2 separate regions of the Homo sapiens genome follow, and region 2 is linked to region 1. Evidence: promoter capture Hi-C in human tissues and cell types (Jung and others, 2019). All regions are on one chromosome and are shown on one strand. Each heading gives the region's core, a stretch centred on a gene start or on the middle of the fragment in contact. The rest is flanking DNA. Distances are from core to core; before and after follow the strand shown.

Evidence for each region. The method cuts DNA at HindIII sites, captures the fragments that hold promoters and counts their contacts. A contact is called where the count stands out against the background at its distance.
Region 2: a fragment that was not itself captured here is called in contact with the fragment with the promoter of EPHA5 in region 1 in 2 of the 25 tissues and cell types used here (H1 embryonic stem cells and hippocampus).

The regions. Positions count from the first base shown.
Region 1 is chr4:65,669,160-65,671,875 of GRCh38, reverse strand. EPHA5 (EPH receptor A5) reads left to right here and starts at 1,387. Exons shown (of 17, transcript NM_001281766.3): 1 at 1,387-2,314. The coding sequence starts at 2,134. EPHA5-AS1 (EPHA5 antisense RNA 1) reads right to left here and starts at 1,915. Exons shown (of 4, transcript NR_034138.1): 1 at 1,203-1,915; 2 at 1-100. The HindIII fragment of the contact is 8,453 bases long and covers 1-2,716 here.
Region 2 is chr4:65,612,878-65,615,593 of GRCh38, reverse strand. All of the region lies in intron 2 of EPHA5 (EPH receptor A5), which reads left to right. Among named protein-coding and RNA genes, the nearest start is that of EPHA5-AS1, 56 kb to the left of the region's middle. The HindIII fragment of the contact is 4,614 bases long and covers 1-2,716 here.

The DNA.
Region 1 (2,716 bases), core at 138-2,637:
GGCTTTTTGCCAAACTGAGAAACTGATTCACTGCTCTTCCTCTAAATTTGCTTCATCCATTCGGAGCACATTATAATAAAAAGAACCTGCTTTCAGACTTCTGGTGCCAAAACATTTCAGGAAAAAAAGAAATCAAAGATGAGCTTTCACCTCTTTACAAAATTGCATCACTGCTGCTTTATTCTTTCATCTTTATTGCAAATATTTAAACAAAAAACAAATGTCACCAGCTAAAGATAGTGAGGAATTTATTGTGGAGACAAACAAGGCTCTAGATATGTCAAAACTGGTGAGCTGACTCACCTTTATTAGGTGTGAACGGAAGCCCAAGCTTTACAGTGGTTACTATACATGAAATTAAATGAGATATCTTTCTTCTATAATCAGACCTTTCTGTAAGTGCTTTCTCTGCAGCCTTTTGTTTTTAAATGCCTGTGTACTAAAATTGTCCTTCAAATGTATCTCTTTGAAAGAATGAATAAATCGAGGGAATATACTAAAGCAAGAAAAGACATAATAGAGGTGAAGCATAGAAAGTTGATTGTTTTAACTGTTTTTTTTTTCACTGTTTGTAAATCTCCCAATGCTATAGGGCACAATCAATTAAAATAATTAATTTTTCAAAACCCTGAATTTATTTGACCGAGGCTAATTTCACTGGAATGTATGTCGTGTATCTGCATATCGTCCAATTTCTAAAATACTAAAACATTTTATCAATGAAATAAATGAATTAAATCGCCACCTATGAAAGTACCTGGCACACTACAAATCTCAATAGTCAAATTCTTTGACTCCTTGAAATCTCAAACAGAGCTACCGCCTCTTTATTTACTCTACAATTTACTTCTGAAGAAAACATTGAGTAATTATCCTATTCCAGCCATCAAAGTATGGGAAGAACAGAAAGAGTCAGCAGCGGTAAGCGGTATGGGTGTTTAAGAAACTAGCCACGGACCAGCAGAGCCTGCGAATGCGCGGCGATGTGACGACAAGGTTGTTGATGCCACAGCCTGTGAGGGACAGCAGGCAAGATGCCAAACGGAGGGACCCGCGTCTCTAAGGGCCGCCGGCTGAGCTGGGGCTGATCTCCCTTCCGCCTCCCGGGAACCCCAGTCCTCGCCAGCGTCGTCAGGATTCCTTGCCCTAATTATCCCGGGAGGAAGACGCGCCTTTCCCGGAGACCGCTAGGCAACACTCACCAAGGCAGCCTCCAGATTACTTCCCTCCGTGGGTGTGTGACTTCGTCGAAGCAACTCACACTTACAGTAGATTCTCACTGGCGAGGCTGCGAGCAGCAGAGGGCGGGGGAGCTGGGAAGAGGAGGAGGGAAGGAGGGTGGGAGGCGCTGAGCTGGGAGGCAGAGGAGACGCCGGAGCTCCAGACACAGCAGGAGCGCGCCTTGGCGGTGCAGTTTCAACCTCGACTTCGCAGCCGCGCACACACCGCCTGCTCCCCGAGCAGCGGGAACCGCAGCAGCTCCTGGGCCGCCGCAGCGCAGCTCCGCGCTCCTACCGGCCGGCAGCCGTCAGTCCCTCCCCTCTTCAGCACTCAGCCCGCAGCTATTTCCTTCTGCCAGTCTCTTTGAACTCTGGATCTTTGCTTTTGCTCGCTGCTCTCCTGTTTTTCATTCTCCACATTTTCTCAAGTCCTCTTTCTTTATCCTTAGCCACCCTGCTTTTTTCCTCCTTTTTTAAAAAATCGGAGATTTCGTCTTAAAATGATTTGCCTTCCTTACCTTCGTCCATTTCAACACTGAAGGCTGCAAAGAACCTTCACCTTTCCCCTAGTGGTATTTAAAAATTCTCAATCCGTAAAAAGTCTTTTTGAAAGGCAAAGGAACAGGACCCAGGACCCTCTCGACACCCTTGATCCGAGTCCAGATCTGCACTAGCAACCAGAACTAATATTTCATTTAACCCCACCAAAGGGGGAGGCGAGAGGAGCCAGAAGCAAACTTCAGCTGTCTCAGCCGGATCCGTGGTTCCTACATTTGGAGGAGCCGCGTGCCAGAAGGCGTAGGACCCCAAGGGGGGACAAGGAGGACTCCCGAGTCTCCCTTCGCCGCTCTGCGAGGCCGAAGCGGTGGACTGAGCCGCTCGGGACAGCGGCACCGGAGGAGGCTCGGAGAAGATGCGGGGCTCGGGGCCCCGGGGTGCGGGACGCCGGCGGCCCCCAAGCGGCGGCGGCGACACCCCCATCACCCCAGCGTCCCTGGCCGGCTGCTACTCTGCACCTCGACGGGCTCCCCTCTGGACGTGCCTTCTCCTGTGCGCCGCACTCCGGACCCTCCTGGCCAGCCCCAGCAACGAAGGTAGGGAGATGGGGGTGGGGACCGTGGCGACCTGGGGCGGAGGGGCTAGGCGGGGCCTGGGAGTTCAGGTCTCAGCGCGCTGGACGCTGCTGCTGCAGACTAAATCGCAGTCTCATCTCAAATTGGTATTTGTCGTCCCCTTCCACTGGCCTTTTCGCTCCCCTCTGCGGTTTTTGGTTGCATTGTTTGACGTTAGCTGCGGAGTGCTGGGCAAGGAACATGCGTGTGGACAGAGGCTGGTTGGGGGGCTGGGAAGGTGGAAAACCTTGGGGGAAAGGAGGTCGAGGCCTCCTTTGGGGAATGGAGGCCCGTTCCAGGGGGATGGGTGCGGCTGGGCCTCACTTAAGGCGCGTGGGGAAGTGACATTTCGGGCTTGAAGGAGTGGGAACTGTTGGAAGCTCA
Region 2 (2,716 bases), core at 110-2,609, 56 kb after region 1:
TATATGTTTTACTGTGAGTTTTGAGTGATCTTTCATTTGGAAGGTAGGTTTGCTAGATATAGAATTATTGGTTGATAGTATTGTTTTTCTAGCACTTTGACTATGTCATTCTATTTTCTTCTGGCCTTCATTGTTTCATCTGTGGTGTCAGCTTATTGTCATATTCTTGTTCCTCTCTACTGAGTTGATTTCCTCTTGCTGCTTTCAAAATTTTCAAAAATGTTTTAGCTTTTATCATGTTCAAGTATCTAGGCATGAACTTTTGTATGTACCCCAATTGGTTTCAGCAGGCATTTTGTATTTCTACCTAAGTTTTTAAATCAAATTTGTAAAATACTTGCTATTTAATCAACTATTGTACCTGCCATTTTTTTCTCTTACTCCTTCTTTTGAGACTTTCATTACATATATGTTAATATGATATATTTTATTTTTCCTAGAGATCTATAAGCTTCTGATAATGAATTTAGTGTATTTTTCCAGTTCATTTTATACTTTATCACTTTGTTATGAATGTAACAAAACACAATTTAGCATAATTGCATTCTTTGTAAAGTATATTTTGCTGTTTTATAAATTTTACATTTTTCTTTATTATATACTTGTAAACTCCATATAACAATTACTATTAACTCTTGTATGATGATTTATAGCATGAATATAACACATTTATTTATTTCTATTGTTGATGACATTAGTACTTTCTTTTTGATCATTACAGTGTTTCAGACTTACTTTGGCATATGTATCTTTAGAATCATGTAAAGATCCCAGGTTTAAAACACTTTTAAATGCACCATATATTTCCAAACACTTCCCAAAGCTGGCTACTAATATATACTCCCAGCAGGAGCATAGAAGAGTACTTCTTCCCTATTGCCTTTATATCACTTGATTCAATTTCTGCCAGGTTTTCTCCTAATAAACAGTCAGTTAAATGTATGAAGCATTAGCCTATATTTAGCATAAATAGCCAAAGTAGGGTGAAGAAATATTATTAAGAGCTTGTGATATCCAGGAGCCCTCTAATCCATCTTTGCTAAAGGATGGACTTACATAGCTGACAAACTATCAGATACAGCAAACAGAATAATAAAGGGAGGTCAGGGACATTTACCTTCTATGCATAGCTTCCTTATCATATCAAGAGTTCAGTTTGCTCATATACAAATAGATGTAAAAGTATGAAATAATATCTAAGATATTATGTTAAAACATTCTGTTTCTTTACTATAACTAGATTTACTGGTTATCTGCATTTGCTCTATGTATGTTTTCTGTTATGAGAATACATTGGCAAAAGGGATTGTGTTGATAAGCAGAGAAAAAGGCAGTTAACAGCTTGTTTTAATATTAAGGCTAAAATCACACTGAAAAATTAATTTTACTATTCCCATCTGTGATTGATAACCTAAGCAACAGGCCTCAAAATAATTAAGGGACAATATAGTGAGACAAGGAACAAGTTGACAGAAGACGCCAGTAGGAATAATAAATGTGAAGACTTAATTTTTTTAATGTTTCAACTTCACTAAATCTGTAAATATATCATATTTTTCTAGAATTCTTGGCATTCGTAGAAACATCTGTTTTTATAGTAATTCTCAAGTAAAATATTAAAGTGCAACAAAATATATCGATTGTTGATAGATAAAAAATTCTGTAAATGTTGATCAATCACTGTCTTCAGATAGTCAATCCCTATTGTAAACTTCTATGGTCTAATGTTGGTCAGAATTAAATTTGCATTCAATTAATGATCAAAAAACATAAACACTAAATATTTAGAATTGTCATTGGAGAGCTATCACTAAACATTTTAAACTTCCATAAGTGAGGTATACATTTATTCAAAAGTATGCTTTTGGTTGATATTAACTTTTTGGCCAGACACAAGCTTAACAAAATCCAGGAGGAGGAATTTGCAATAGACATATGGCTGTTCATTTACTTCTATCTCAAATAGAGAAGCACTGGAATTCTTAATATATTTAACTAAGTGGCTAAAAAAATCTCTACAGGGAAAACTACAGAACACTGATGAAATAAACCATAGATGACACAAACAAATTGAAGATCATCCCATTCTTATGGATTGGAAGAATCAATACAGTTAAAATGACCATACTGCCCAAAGCAATCTGCAGATTCAATGCAATTCCTATAAAAAATATCAACACTATTTTTCACAGAATTAGACAAAAAATTATATAGTTTATATGACCTCTCAAAAGAGCCCAAATTGTCAAAGGAATTCTAAGCAAAAAGAATAAAGCTGGAGGCATCACATTACCTAACTTCAAATTATACTACAAGTATGTAATAACCAAAACAGCATGATACAGGCATAAAAATAGACAGATAGATCAGTGGAACAGAATAGAGTCCCAGAAATAAAGTCACAGACCTACAGCCAACCGATCTTTGACATTGTTGATGAAAACATATACCGAGATTAGGACACCCTATTCAATAAATGGTACTGGGAAAATTGGATTGCTATACGCAGAAAAATGAAATTGGACCCCTATTTTCTACTGTCTATTAAAATGGACCCAAGATGGATTATAGATTTAAATGTATGACCTGAAACTATAAAATCCTAAGCAAAACCATGGAAAGCTCTTCTGGACATTGGCCTAGTTGAAGTATGCATGATTAAGACCTCAAAAACAAATGCAACAAAAACAAAAATGATAAATGGAACTTATTTAAA